Linked DNA regions of Homo sapiens: regions 2 and 3 are each linked to region 1. Evidence: promoter capture Hi-C in 16 types of primary human blood cells and fetal thymus (Javierre and others, 2016). All regions are on one chromosome and are shown on one strand. The core of a region is centred on a gene start or on the middle of the fragment in contact, and the rest is flanking DNA. Distances in the headings are between cores, read along the strand shown. Region 1 holds the start of PSAP (prosaposin). Region 2 overlaps DNAJB12 (DnaJ heat shock protein family (Hsp40) member B12). Region 3 has its middle 16 kb from the start of CDH23.

What was found. The method cuts DNA at HindIII sites, captures the fragments that hold promoters and counts their contacts. A CHiCAGO score of 5 or more calls a contact.
Region 2: a fragment that was not itself captured here is called in contact with the fragment with the promoter of PSAP in region 1 in 1 of 17 cell types (fetal thymus); the score reaches 5.4 in fetal thymus.
Region 3: a contact is called between a fragment that was not itself captured here and the fragment with the promoter of PSAP in region 1, in 8 of 17 cell types (naive CD4 T cells, naive CD8 T cells, neutrophils and 5 more). The highest score is 7.9, in naive CD4 T cells.

What each region holds. Positions count from the first base shown.
Region 1 is chr10:71,848,510-71,853,282 of GRCh38, reverse strand. It overlaps PSAP (prosaposin), which reads left to right and starts at 2,032. Exons shown (of 14, transcript NM_002778.4): 1 at 2,032-2,101. The coding sequence starts at 2,062. RefSeq lists enhancers at 1,821-2,351, 2,352-2,882, 3,274-3,773. The HindIII fragment of the contact is 9,568 bases long and covers 1-4,086 here.
Region 2 is chr10:72,337,635-72,342,407 of GRCh38, reverse strand. It overlaps DNAJB12 (DnaJ heat shock protein family (Hsp40) member B12), which reads left to right. Exons shown (of 9, transcript NM_017626.7): 4 at 1,238-1,423; 5 at 1,540-1,619; 6 at 4,097-4,206. Among named protein-coding and RNA genes, the nearest start is that of DNAJB12, 15 kb to the left of the region's middle. The HindIII fragment of the contact is 3,273 bases long and covers 1,104-4,376 here.
Region 3 is chr10:71,378,687-71,383,459 of GRCh38, reverse strand. It overlaps a transcript of SLC29A3 not described here. Among named protein-coding and RNA genes, the nearest start is that of CDH23, 16 kb to the left of the region's middle. The HindIII fragment of the contact is 4,435 bases long and covers 709-4,773 here.

The DNA.
Region 1 (4,773 bases), core at 783-3,282:
CCATCTGCAAGGAGCTGAAGGATGGGGGATTTGTCCTAGAGCCCCAGCTCCCTTGCTTTTTTTGTTTGTTTTTTTTTTGAGACGGAGTTTCGCTGTTGTTGCCCAGGCTGGAGTGCAGTGGCACGATCTCGGCTCACTGCAAGCTCCGCCTCCCGGGTTCACGCCATTCTCCTGCCTCAGCCTCCCGAGTAGCTGGGACTACAGGCGCCCGCCACATCGTGCGGCTAATTTTTTGTATTTTTAGTAGAGACGGGGTTTCACCCTGTTAGCCAGGATGGTCTCGATCTCCTGACCTCGTGATCTGCCTGCCTCGGCCTCCCAAAGTGCTGGGATTACAGGCGTGAGCCACCGCGCCCGGCTAGCTCCCTTGCTTTTAACCAGTTGTTGTGTGGTCTGCCCCACGCTTCTGCCTGGCCTTGGGAAGCCCAAAGGTGGAGCAGCCACGAAGTCTCCATCTGGCCACTGAGGCCGACCTGTGAGGCGTCCAGTTGAGACCACATCTTGTCCCAACTCACTCAGCTGCCTCACATGGCCCACTGTGGTGCATGGGGCACACTTCCCCATCTGGCTCCCCAGAGGAAGTCAGAGCTGTGGTGGGGGCTGGGGGCACTTAGGGAGATTGCAGGGGAGCAGAACTGAAGGTTCTGAGGCCTTAGTCCCTGGGGTTGTTCTCCAGAGCGGATTGCAGATTGGAGGAAGTTGGAGGAACTGTAGGTTTGCCCTTCCTGGGTCAGGAAACCTGGCTTCGGGCCAGGTTCTATCTCTACCTGTTGTGTGACCTTGGATAAACGTCTTGCCCTCTCCTAGGCTCAATGTCCCTACAGGTAAATGACCTCTAAGTGCCTGCCCTAAGGGGCTAAGATTCCCCTCCTTTCCCTGCCTTGCGGTTGGCAGGTTCTTATCCTTCTGGAGAGGGTCATCATCATTCTCTGTTCAGGTCCTGGCAGGGGCAGCCACAGGCAGAGGGTCTTTGGGTCTTAATTTCTGAAGGCTTCCATGTCACATAAAACGTTGATTACATAAATTTGTTATGCTTTTCTCTTAAGCTGTCTCGTTACAGGAGTGTTGGTTGTGACTCTTATGATCTCTTATGATGGGTGAGGAATGGTATTACATCTTTAACGGTACCACAATGTGAGGCTTAAAAGTTTTTTGTTTTTTTTTTTTTGGTGATGGGAATCTCTCTCGCTCTGTGGTCCAGGCTGCAGTGCAGTAGTGCGATCTTGACTCACGGCAACCTCCACCTCCCGGGTTTAAGCAATTTTCCTGCCTCTGCCTCCTGAAATAGCTGGAACCACAGGCGAGCGCCACCACGCCTGACTAATTTTTGTATTTTTAGTAGAGACAGGGTTTCACCATATTGGCCAGGCTGGTCTTGAACTCCTGACCTCATGATCCGCCCGCCTCGGCCTCCCAAAGTGTTAGGATTACAGGAGTGAGCCAGCATGCCCAGCCCAGACTTGCCTTTGACCAGGTGCCACCACCTGCCCCCACGTGCCCCTGGCCAGGACTGAGCCCTGTACCCTGTTACACGACTACTTATTCTATGTGAAACCCCAAGCTATTCTATGTGAAACCCGCTACTACAATGGGCTAATTTTTTTGTATTTTTTTTTTTGTAGAGATGGGGTTTCACCACGTTGCCCAGGCTAGTCTTGAACCCTCCGCCCGCCTCGGCCTCCCAAGTGTTGGGATTACAGGCGTCAGCCACCGCGGCCGGCCAACAATGTGGAGATTTAAAAGGTATTTTACATATATAATCTCTGACCTATTCAATTAGTAGGGCTTTTCTTTTATGACCTTTCCCTTCCCTTTCTCCAAGTTCTTCCTCACTCCTCCCCATAGCCCTTCCTTTCGCCCCTCCCATTGCCCCCTCCTATTGGCCTCCCCTTCGCGCAGGCGCCCTCAGAGGCGCTGAGTCAGGGCGCTGTTGAGCTCGGGCAGGCCCGGATGGGGCGGGGTTAGCGCCTGCGCTCTGGACGGCTTTGGGGCAGGGCAGATTTATATCTGCGGGGGATCAGCTGACGCTCCGCATTGCAGACTGCGGAGTCAGACGGCGCTATGTACGCCCTCTTCCTCCTGGCCAGCCTCCTGGGCGCGGGTAAGCCCTGGGACCCTCATCCTGGGGAGGAGGTGCCTCGCAGCGTCCATCTGCCCCAGAATGGGCTGTGCCGGGCCTGGCCCCTCTGCTCCCCCTGCCCTAGTTGGCAAGGGGGCGCGCGCACTGCGCAGGCGCGTTCGCTGGCTTTCTCTGGCTTTCTCTGGGCGGCTGGGGGCTGCGGGGGGCGGGCTGCGAAAATGCCCCCGGGAGGACGGCCCAGGCCCTGGGCAGCATCTCCTTCGGGGCTCGAGTGGGTTCCTGCGCGGCTGGGGCCCCGAGGCCTTCCCTCAGGCTGCGCTTCCCACTGTGGGGGTGGGTGAGTCTTGTAGGGTGACCCCTTGGGCAGCTGTGTTGTGCCTGTGCTGGGCGCACGTGATCGAGGTGGGCTGGAGCCCCGTCCCGCAGGACACTTTGGCCGTTGGCTTCAGTTGCCTGTTTGTAAGGGTAGCGAAGCTGCAGGAAGCACATGTGTATCATCTATATTGACGTTTGCATATGTATTTACTCTGGATTCTAGGTGTTGACAAAACGAGTCAAACTCTGTAAAAATATTTTGAGATTTATTCTGAGGCAAATATGAGTGACCATGGCCCGTGACACAGCCCTCAGGAGGTCCTGAGAACATGTGCCTAAGGTGGTTGGGATACAGCTGGGTTTTACATATTTTCGGGAGGCACGAGACATCAATCAAATACATTTAAGAAATACGTTGGTTTGGTTCAGAAGGGCGAAACAACTCAAAGCGGCGGGGGGCTTCCAGGCCATAGGTAAATTTAAACATTTTCTAGTTGATAATTGGTTGAGTTTATCTGAAAACCTAGAATCAATAGAAAGAAAGTATTCAAGTTAAGATAAAGGATTGTGGAGACCAAGTTTTATTGTGCAGAGGAAGCTCTCAGGTAGCCGACTAAGAGAGCGAGCACGTTGTAAAATATTTCTATGGAAATGAAAGGGTGACTGGCTCTTAGTTGATTATCTCCTGGATCTGGAGAGGAAGGAAGGAAAACATAGGGGAAAGGGGATTCTCTATAGAATGTGGATTTTTCCCACAAGAGACTTTGCAGGGCAATTTCAAGGTATGGCAAGGAAATATATTTTGGGGTTAGATATTTTGATTTTTTTTTCCTTGTCTTATAAAATGTTATGCCAGAGTCAGATTGGAAAGTAAGTCACGATATATGGGGTCAAATAAAACCCATCTGATGAGAGTTTATGGTTTGTAGGGTATGATTCCTACACCCCTTAGATAGGAATTTGGGCAAGCTAAAAAAAATCGGAGCTTAATTCTCATAGGTATTGAAGGCGATATAGGGTTTTCTGGTCCAGTTATTTTGCCATGGGGTCCTCATTTCACTTGCTTTGAAATGTCTTGCATCTGGGTGCGGTGGCTTATGCCTGTAATCCCAGCACATTGGGACACCGAGGTGGGAGGATCGCTTGAGCCTAGGAGTTGGAGACCAGCCTGGGCAACATAGCAAGACCCCACCTGTGAAAAAAAGAAAAAGAGAAAAGAAAGTCTTGCACGCTATTGGCCGTTTTTTTTTTGTTTGTTTGTTTTGTTTGTTTGTTTGTTTTTTGAGACGGAGTTTCGCTGTTGTTGCCCAGGCCGGAGTGGTGCAATGGCGTAGTCTCGGCTAACTGCAACCTCCGCCTTCCGGGTTCAAGCCATTCTCCCGCCTCAGCCTCCCAAAGTTCTGGGATTACAGGCGTGAGACACCGCACCCAGCCCCCACCACAATGTCTGTTTTTTAGTAACTATATGTAGTTTAAGGGCTGGCTGCCATTTTTAACCTAGCTACCCAAATTTTAATAAAAAGTAACAAAGTGGATGACAGGGTTGATGCAAAACCGAAGAAATGAGTTAGCTTTCAGCAGCTCTCAAGAATGTATCTTGACCCTATACGAAGCTCTTAAATTTGTTTTACTTGTACACAATGAAAGATGATCTGCTTATAAAAAAATCATTTTGATTTTATACTCAAGCTTATACTGCAGTTATTCCATGGTCTGTATAATAAACTAATGCTGGTCTCTAAATTTTTTATACTGATTCAGGGCAATTTTTTTTCTTTCTTTTTACATTATCCATTGTTCTTGTTGACGTTGAGTCACTCCTCACAAGACCCTTAAGAGTTCTGATTCATTCACATCACCCAAAAGGGACTCAATCGTGTCTCGGGAAATATAAAATCCACCTCTGGTATATATGGGCTTATGGTTAACCACAATATTTAGTTAACCAAGGGACCCTCTTCCGTGAACACTCGGGTAAATGGGAGGTATTGTAATGGCCTTGGTTTAACTTTGCTGTCCTACCTTTAGGATTAGGCCAAAGTCAGTGCTGATAACAGTGTTTGAATGCTCCCTGGCCTTCACAGCTCTGGCCCCTTTGTGATATTGTGAAAATGTTACTCCTAAAATTTCTAGACATGATAATGAGTTTTGTTAGTGAAAGTGCCTGGTGACTGCAGCCATTGTCTGCTGCCCGAGAGGCACTTAGAACTTTCTTCGTGACACTGTCGTAGTACAGAATGCCACCCTGAATCGGGATGGGCTTTGTATTTTGTGTTTCAGTGATGTCCTGGTGGTAGAGACACTTGCTTTTGAGTTACTTTTCTGCCCATCCAGCTGCCCCTCCTTTTTCCCCACCTAAAAGCGAAAGCAAAGCCATG
Region 2 (4,773 bases), core at 1,491-3,990, 490 kb before region 1:
GCCTATTCAGAATTGGCGGAGGAGACGATTCCGCGCTCCTTATTCCCGGGGGTTTCAGGATGGGAATCAGATGTGGCTTGGACCCACTCCTCGGAGTCAGTGGCAGCTTGAGGAGAGGGAGTGAGAGACTGAGGAGGTCAGAGCTGGGGTCCTTCAGGGCACAGCCGTCCCGGCTAGGGGGCCCTGGTGGGAGGCTCCAGGCCCAGATAGGAAATAACGGTTGGGGCCTGGACCCCAGAGAGTGGGGGACTCACCCCAGCTGCATCACCAGAAGTGGAGGAGTCTCCATAGAGCCCCGAGATTTGGCCCTTCCCCACAGCTCCTGCTGCTTTCCAGTTCACAATAAGGATATTGTGTGTCTGTCTGGCCTGCATGTCAGACTATGACTTCAGGTTTACAGAACCTCCAGAAAGGGATGCCCATCCTATTGGGCACGTCAAGAGAGAATGAGGAAAGAGGTTTTTGGTGGTTTTCATAAAGTCGGAGAGAGAACTTGAAGCAAGAGACACCTGCTTTTGTTTGACTCCCAGCTCTGTAACATATTAAAGCTGTGTAAGCTTAGGCAGTCACTTCTCTGAGCCTCAGTTTTCTCATTGGTGAAATGGAGATAGGGTTGCTCTTAGAGGTAAATGAGTTGACCTGGTGTGGTGGCTTATGTCTATAATCCCAGCACTTTGGGAGGCCAAGGTGGGAGGATCCCTTGAGCCCAGGAGTTTGAGACCAGCCTGGGCAACTTGGCAAGACCTCATCTCTACAAAAAATACAAAAAATTAGCTGAGTGTGGTGGTTCACGCCTGTAGTCCCAGCTACTCAGGAGGCTGAGGTGGGAGGATCGCTTGAGCAAAGGAAGTTGAGACTGCAGTGAGCCACGGTTGCTCCACTGCACTCAGCTTGGGTGACAGAGTGAGGCCCTGCCTCAAAAAATAAAATAAACAAACAAAAAGAAGTAAATGAGGCCACACTCCTAGGAGGCCTGGCACATTGACAAAGCTTGACCATTGTCTTGAGGAGAACAAGGAGCCTGTGTTACCCTCCACCCAGCCAGGCTGCCCAGATCCACTGAGGGGTCTTCCTGCATGCCCCCTCCTTACACTGGCCAAGCTTCCTGCCCACCCCAAGGACGTCTGCTTCCTAAAGCACTGCTTGAGTACCTGAGAAAAGTGAGCACTCGGCTGCCATGGGAGCCTCCCCCCGCACCCCAGGATCCTCAGGCCTGACCTTTCCTCCTCCTCTCCAGCCATTGGCACAGCATATGCGGTACTCAGCAACCCGGAGAAGAGGAAGCAGTATGACCAGTTCGGCGATGACAAGAGCCAGGCGGCCCGGCACGGCCATGGGCATGGGGATTTCCACCGTGGCTTTGAGGCCGACATCTCCCCTGAAGACCTCTTCAACATGTTCTTTGGCGGCGGCTTCCCTTCTAGTAAGTTCCCCACCCTCCCCACAGCCAGGTATCCCTGGGGTGATGGTGGGAATGGCATGCCAGCCTCTCCCTTTCCCAACAGACCTGGCTCCTGACTCAGCCCCTCTGACCCCCAGGTAACGTCCACGTCTACAGCAACGGCCGCATGCGCTATACCTACCAGCAAAGGCAGGACCGCAGGGACAACCAGGGTGATGTGAGTGAGGAGGGCGCCAGGGACAGCGCGGGAAGGGCACCAAATCCACCCCAGGGAGGGGGCTTGGAGGAGGGTGTTCCCTCCCACACTGTCCATTCTGGGACCAGCAGAGTCCCCATAACTCTCAGCCAAGGAGCCCTCTGGGCCTCCCTTGCCATTCTGCTGAGTGACACCAGAGGGCGCCACACGAGGGAGCCATGCTCCACATTGCCGGCGGGAGCGCGGCTTTGCTGGCCTGGCTGGGGAGTGGAACCAGAAACCCCACCCACAGCCAGGTTTGAGTGTGAGGCTCCCATGCAGACCGCTCGCTGGTAAGGCCAAAGTGACATCCTCTAAGCAATGGAAAGTTACACTTTGTGAGAGAATTTTATTTTATTTTTCATTTTTTTCATGGGTCTCAGCTATTTTCTCTCAACTTTGTGAGAGAAATTTCTTTTTTTTTAATTGAGATGGAGTCTTGCTCTCTCGCCCAGGCTGAGTGCAGTGGCGCGATCTCGGCTCACTGCAACCTCCGCCTCCCGGGTTCAAGCCATTCTCCTGCCTCAGCCTCCCGAGTAACTGGGATTACGGGTGCGTGCCACCACCCCCGGCTAATTTTGTATTTTTAGTAGAGATGGGGTTTCACCATGTTGGCCAGGCTGGCCTTGAACTCCTGACCTCTGGTGATTCACCCGCCTCAGCCTCCCAAAGTGCTGGGATTATGGGCGTGAGCCACTGCGCTCTGCCACTGAGAGAATTTTAAAGGATGACAACATAGGTGCCGACTCTTCTTGCTAAAAAGCCAAAAGATACTTTTAAAAAGATATTTACAAAAATTTGGGAGGCCAAGGTGGGTAGATCACCTGAGGTCAGGAGTTTGAGAGCAGTCTGGCCAACATGGTGAAACCCCGTCTCTACTAAACATACAAAAATTAGCTGGGCGTAGTGGCAGGCGCCTTTAATCCCTACTCGGGAAGCTGAGGCATGAGAATCACTTGAACCCAGGAGGCAGAGGTTGTGTTGAGCCGAGATCGTGCCACTGCACTCCATCCTAGGCAACAGAGCAAGACTCCGTCTCAAAAAAAAAAAAAAGTATAAAAATTATAACTAGACAGTGCTTCAAACACATTTTGTATGCCACAGATCAAAGAACAGCTAGCTGGCTAAAATTAAAATATTGTGGACAATTGCAAAACATTTTAAATTCTGGCCAGGCGGAAGGGGTTTCCTTTTGCTCTGACAATATTTATTCAATTTTTTTTTTTTTTAATTTTTTGAGATGGAGTCTCGCTCTGTTGCCCATGCCGGAGTGCAGTGGCACAATCTTGGCTCACTGCAACCTCTGCCTCCCAGGTTCAAGTGATTCTCCTGTCTCAGGCTCCTACGTAGCTGGGAGTACAGGCGCCCGCCACCACACCCAGCTAATTTTTGTATTTTTAGTAGAGACGGGGTTTCACCATGTTGGCCAGGCTGGTCTCGAACTCCTGACCTCGTGATCTGCCTGCCCCTTCCTCCCAAAGTGCTGGGATTACAGGCGTGAGCCACCATGCCGGCCTTTTTTTTTTTTTTTTGAGACAGGGTCTCGTTCTGTCACCCTGGCTAGAGTGCAGGAGCCTCCCCTCCCAGGCAAAGCTCCCACCTCAGGCTCCCCAGTAGCTGGGACCACAGGCCCACACCACCACACCCAGCTAATTTTTTGTATTTTTTGTAGAGATAGGGTCTTACTTTGCTGTTTGAGCACAGGCTGGTCTCAAACTCTTGGGCTCAAGTGGTCCTCCTGCCTCAGCCTCCCACAGTGCTGGGATTACAGGCATGAGCCATTGCCCCTGATCAAAATTTTTTTATTTTGTATCTAACAACAGAAGAGTTTAACATCACAGATTATCACACAGTGAATATATTTGTTAATTTTTATTTCTAATTCTTCTTTTTTTGTTTGTTTGCTTTTTCTGCACCCTAGAACCAGTGCTATTTCTAATTTTTATTTTGTTTTAATTATTATTTTTTGTAGAGATGGGGGTGTATGTTGGCCAGACTGGTCTTGAACTCCTGGCCTCACGTGTTCCTCTCATGTTGGTCTCCCAAAGTGTTGGGATTACAGGCATGAGCCGCCACACTGGCCATAATGTTTAAATTGGTAATATATTTGTGTGGTTCACATCTCAAAAACTTGTATATACTGCATGTCTCCTTCCAGCCCTGCCTTCCATTCTCCTGGAGGAAGCAACTTTTGCTGATTTTTTTTTTTTTTTGGCATTCTGTCAAAAGTAAATGCAGACACCTCACTTCCTCCTGTATTTCACACCAGTTGCTGCTTTGTTTTTATCTGGGAAAGCTGGCAGGTGAAGGAGCGTCTGTGTTTTGGAGCCTCGTGGAGGGAACGGCAGAGTGGTGTCATGTCTCCCCAGGCTCCACTATTCTAGGGGAGCTAGTGGTGATTATGGCTGACACCACACCCCACCCAGGTCCAGCAGAGTGACATTGGCTCTTCCCTCCAGGGCGGGCTAGGGGTGTTTGTGCAGCTGATGCCTATCCTCATCCTGATTCTCGTGTCAGCTCTCAGCCAGCTCATGGTCTCCAGTCCACCCTACAGTCTGAGTCCAAGACCGTGAGTACATGGGTGAGGCCGGGCCATGGGCAGACAAGGGGCTTTAAATTCTCAGCCCCATCAGGGGCCTTCTTTCCCATCCTGATCCAGCCAGTGTGCGATCATAATGCAGAAACCTGGCTTCGAATCAAGAAAATATACTTTCTCTATTCAACTAGGACTCTTAAGCTTTTTAGGATTATGGTCCCCTAAGAAATTGCAGCGAGAGCTACAGAACTTTTCCCTAAAACTATGCACACATGTGCACACACACATACACACACACGATACACATGTACACACACACACAATACATGCACACACATAATACACATGCACACATACACGCACACATATACACACAGAGTTTTGCATATAATTTCGGCGGCTTTGTGACTCTTCCCTGCCCATCTCCCCTGCCAACCCTGACGAAGAACCTCTGCTCCTCGGCTCTGGTTGGGCTTCCTGAGGCTGTGGAAAGAACAGGGCACTAGAGTCAGACAGAGCAAGCATGGCTTAGAATCCCAGCTTCTCCACTAAGAAGCTGTGTGACCCTAAACAAGTTATATAACCTTGGTTTCCTCATCT
Region 3 (4,773 bases), core at 1,677-4,176, 470 kb after region 1:
GGTTTCACCACTTTGGCCAGGCTGCTCTTGAACTCCTGACCTCAAATGATTCACTCACCTCAGCCTCCCAAAATGTTGGGATTACAGGTGTGAGCCACTGCACCCGGCCCCAAAGAGTCTTATTATCAGATTAAATTATTGCTTACATATGATACAGTATAGGTAATAACGCACGTGAAGTACCCAGCTCAGAGTCTTGCTCCCTTTCCTTAACTCCCTCACATTTTGAAACTTACGGTTCACTTCCCAAGTCCTTCCTACGCTTCTCCCTAGGAAGGGCGGAGATCAGCCTCCTGATGCTGCCACTCTGATGCCAGACCCTGCCTATTCAGGGAATGCCAGGAGCCCTGGTTCCTGGAACAGGACTCCTAACCCAGGCCCAGTCAGTGTATAGAGAGGGCCCTCTATCACCTCCTAGAGTCACCCCCAACTTTATGGTGAGGACTTAACTTCTTTGCTGATTCATTGCTGTTATGATGAATGAGATCCCTCTGCTAGAGTTGCACAGTTACAACCACAGCAGCTGTTCATGGCTGCCCTGATGTTGAAATTCTCAGTAACTAAAAACAGGCGCACTGGGATACAGCCCCATACCAGGTAGGGTGAGAGGAAGGGCTAGCAGGCAGAATCCTTGTAGCTTTAGAAGGTCTCAAGAAGACCTGTAACTCCAGCTGAGACAGAGGCCTAGCTCCTCTGGAGGGCAAAGCTTAGACACGTCTCCTGATGCATCCAAATTGGGATGGGGTGGCTCTAGCTCTTAACGTTTGCAGGCCTTGTGTTTATTCTCTCTGAGCCTCAGTTTCCTCGTCTGTAATATGTGGGGATAATCCCTGGCCTGTTTACTTTCTCTGGTTGTGAGATAAAGAAAAATCTGAAAGTCTTCTATAAACTCTCCAGTCCTGTTGAGATGTAGTTCCACCCATAGCACACTGAATTCCTTTACTTATTTTTTTGAGCACACAGCTGGGCAAGGGGGTAGTTGGCTGGGGTTGTAATGGTGAGTACAATAGGCATCTTTCTTCCCCTCAAACATCTTGAGGGACAAAGGAGAAAAGAATTATCTAGCACCTTCCCAAGGAGCACTACAGCCTCCTTCTCCTTCCCTGCCTCCATTTCCTTCCAGGAAGGACTTCCTAGGTGACTCACATTGTGCCCAGCACATCACACACATATGTCACATCATTTGATCTTTCAGCCAACTGAGGCAGTGCCATCACCCCCATTTTAGAGATCAGAAAACTGAGGCTCAGGAAATGTAACTTTAAGCGGAGGAAGCTGGATTCAAATCCAGATTTTTCTGGGCTCTCCAATGAGAGTTAACCTCTGCACCATACAGGAAACAGATAATAAACAATTACTGAGGGCTTGTTAGGTGTCAAAGGACAGTGCCAGACACTTTCTGGACTTTATTTTACTGAAACCCTACACCGACCATGCCAGTTAGGTATATTAACCCAGTTTTACAGATGAGGAAACTGAGTCTCCAAGAGAATAAGGGAAGCCTCTCATTGCCATGCTGGTTGACGTCTTGGGAGTTGGACAGATTACAGTAATCAGCTAATGGCTGAGCAGTGCTCTGAAGATGAAAAGCCCTTATTGAAAGTGCTAAGCATGATGATTAAGTTGGAAGGTGGAATTAGCTGCACAGTGGGAGCAGGCTGCAGCCAACAGGAGAGGATTAGCGACTACTTGCCTGATTCTGTGGAAGGCAGGTTAGGAGCGAAAAAAACTGAGAAAGGTTTTCAGCTCCATGGTGGTGCTCACATCCAAGAGGATGAGACAGTCTGTGGACCTGCAAGGCAGTGATCACACCCCAGTGTTGAAGGGATCAGACAGCATCCATGGAAAGCAAAGTGGGCTCCCAGCTCCCTTTGCCTTTTCTCCATCCATCCATCCTTCCATCCATTCATCCACCCATCCATCCATCCATCCAACAATTACTCACCAAGGACCTAGTAGGCCTCACGCAAGCTCTCATGAGGCTCCCAACCCAGTGGAGGGAGATACACATTTAACAATAATCACATACCAAAGAATTATTGTTCATTTTTTAGATTTAATAACAGGAGCTTTGCTCTTTTGATTTTATTTTTTAAGACTTAACTTTTTTAGAGTAGTTTTAAGTTCACAGGAAAATTGAGAAGATGGTACAGAGACTGCCCCCACGTTGTGCACAGCCTGCCACAGTATCAACATCCCCCAGCAGAGCAGAGCATTTGATACAGTAGTGAGCCTGCACTGACACACCATCATCACCCCAAGTCCATAGCTCACATTAGGGTTCACTCTTGGTGTTGTACATTCTGTGGGTTTGGATAAATGTATAATGACATGTATTTGTGGTTATGTTTTATACAAGAGCCCTTATTTTTAGCAATACCTACCAAAACATTTACAAATGTGTTGCCTCAAATTAATACTAGGAGGCAGGAGTGAGTAGGGGTAGAGATAAAACAAGATTGACCTCGAGTTGATCATTGTTGAAGCTGGGTGATAGGTATATGGAGTCTGTGATACTGTTCTGTTTTGGGTTTTTCTGGTAAATGTTGGAAACTTTTCATAATAAAGTTTTGTTTAAAAAAACAAATATTGATAAATAATTAGCACTTATAATAAGTGCCACAAAGGAAGAATGAATGGCGTGATGAGAGATTATTGTAGAGGGACCCACTTTAGACTTGGGGGTGGGAGTAGGGGGTCGGTTTGGGACAGGGTGAAGCATTGGGGCATCCTTAAGCCTCGTGATTGCCAAAGTAACCCTTTCTGTCTCCTTCCTCCCAGAAGGGCAGGCTGGCAGTGTCCTGGGGAGAGACCCCTACCTTTTGAGCATCACTAGCAACCTACTGGGAGACCAGGATCCTGGAGAAGTCAAGATCAGCCCCAAAGTCCCTCATCAATTGTGATGGAGGGAACAGAGGGAAGTCCCAATTGCAACCTGCACCCATCGCTGTGCATGCCCATGTTGTGTGTGTACATTATTTACCTACTATGAGCACGGCCTCATTAGAACAACCTCAGGGGAGGGGAGCAGGACTCCCCACTTTACAGATGAGAAAAATAAGGCTCTGAGAGGTAAAAAAGGACTCGCTCAAAGTCAGCAGCAGAGCCAAATACCAAGGTTTATCATCTTGTTAGTGTCTCCCCAACCGCCCCCCGACCTGTTAACACAGCCATCATTCCTACATCGCAGGGAGAAAAATTGTTAACAAGACGGCTGGAACCTCAAGCCACAGGAGCTGTGGGCCCAGAGAAGGCAGGGCCATTCCTCTTAAGTGTAAAAGCCGTGGGGTGAGGGCATGCGGGAAGGGAGTGAGAGCTATAGTTTGCTGGAAATCTGAAGAACCAAATGACCTTGGGCCTCCAAACATGAGACAAAACAGAGTTCAGGGGTAAGCGCTCCTCCCCATCCCTTCTAGTGTCCCTCGGATGCAGATCTGGCTCAATTTCCAGGTATCTGTGAAAGGAAGGGTTCCAGCTCCAGGTTAAGGGGCACATGCTTGGTCACATGCTGTGGGCTGGAGGGTATAGGGATGGACCTTGAGGGAGTATGGGGTAAAGGACCTTAGGCACTGGGAGCCAGGGAGCTCTCAGGCCAGTGTGCCCCACTATTTCAGGCCAGCAGTGTCCACAAAGTGCACTCGGGATTTTTCCAAAGTGTCCAGCCTATAGCACTCCTCACAACAAAACTGGATCCCTGTATCAAAAGACAAAATGATAAGAAATTTAGCTTAAAGATCTCAAATGGCTTTATTGCAATTATAGAATCTGGCAACACTTCATTCCATAAAATAGAATAAGTGTTCTGATAAGCTGAGCAGAGGGAGTTGGTTTTATAGACAGAGAGGGCTGAAGGAAACAGAAGAGAAGAACAAAGAGCCTATTAGTTGCTTCAGAGCCACTTCCCTCACGAGGTGGGGACAGGGAGACAGAATGATAGAAAAACAACTGATTCATTAGCATCAGGTTACTCAACGCTACTTCTTTCATATAAGGAATAAAGCAGAGGGGATTCACTCTTGTGACCATTGAGATTTGAACTGGCCTGTTTGGGACATTGGCTGTTACCTCTTTTCAGGTAACTACTTAGTTTGGGTTTAGTGCCATGGAACTTTAGCATGGGTGACTCCCTTTGGATTTTTAGCCTGGTCTGCTGGGGCCTAATTCAGAAACTTAGTCCAAAACAATGGCCTCCTACAATTTTCATTTAACGCTTGCCTGCTCTGAGAAGAGGAGGAATGACAAGAGAGCAAAACATGGGCTGGCCCTCTGCCCTCACTGGTAAGGAGCTCACCTTTTGGACTCAGACCTGGATTCAAATTCTTGGGCAAGCCACTTAAATCCTCCAAACCCTAGTTTCCCCGTTGGGGGGCAACATCTCCCTCTCAACTGAGGCATTGTGAGGGTGAAGCAGACAATGAGAGCAAAGCATTTGGCAGAGCATTTGGTCCTCCCTGAAGCCAGCCATCGTCCTCCTCCTCACTGGGCAATGACACCTCCCCTAGTTGTTCTCATCTAAGGTGGTGTTTCTCTAGAAGCTGATCCCAGACAAGGATTAAAGTGCAAGTCGTTTATTAGAAGTGAATTCAGGAAGCTCCAGCTGAAGAATGAGGAAGTGAGACAAGAAAGGGAAGGAGACCAAAAAAAGATGTGTTATCAAGCAGGTTACCATTGTAGACAACGGGAGCTCAAGCCCATAAGGGAGCTCTGGGGAACAGCCTAGCAGAACAGTCGTTCTCAAACTTCAGCACAGACTCACTAGGAGGGCTTGTTAAA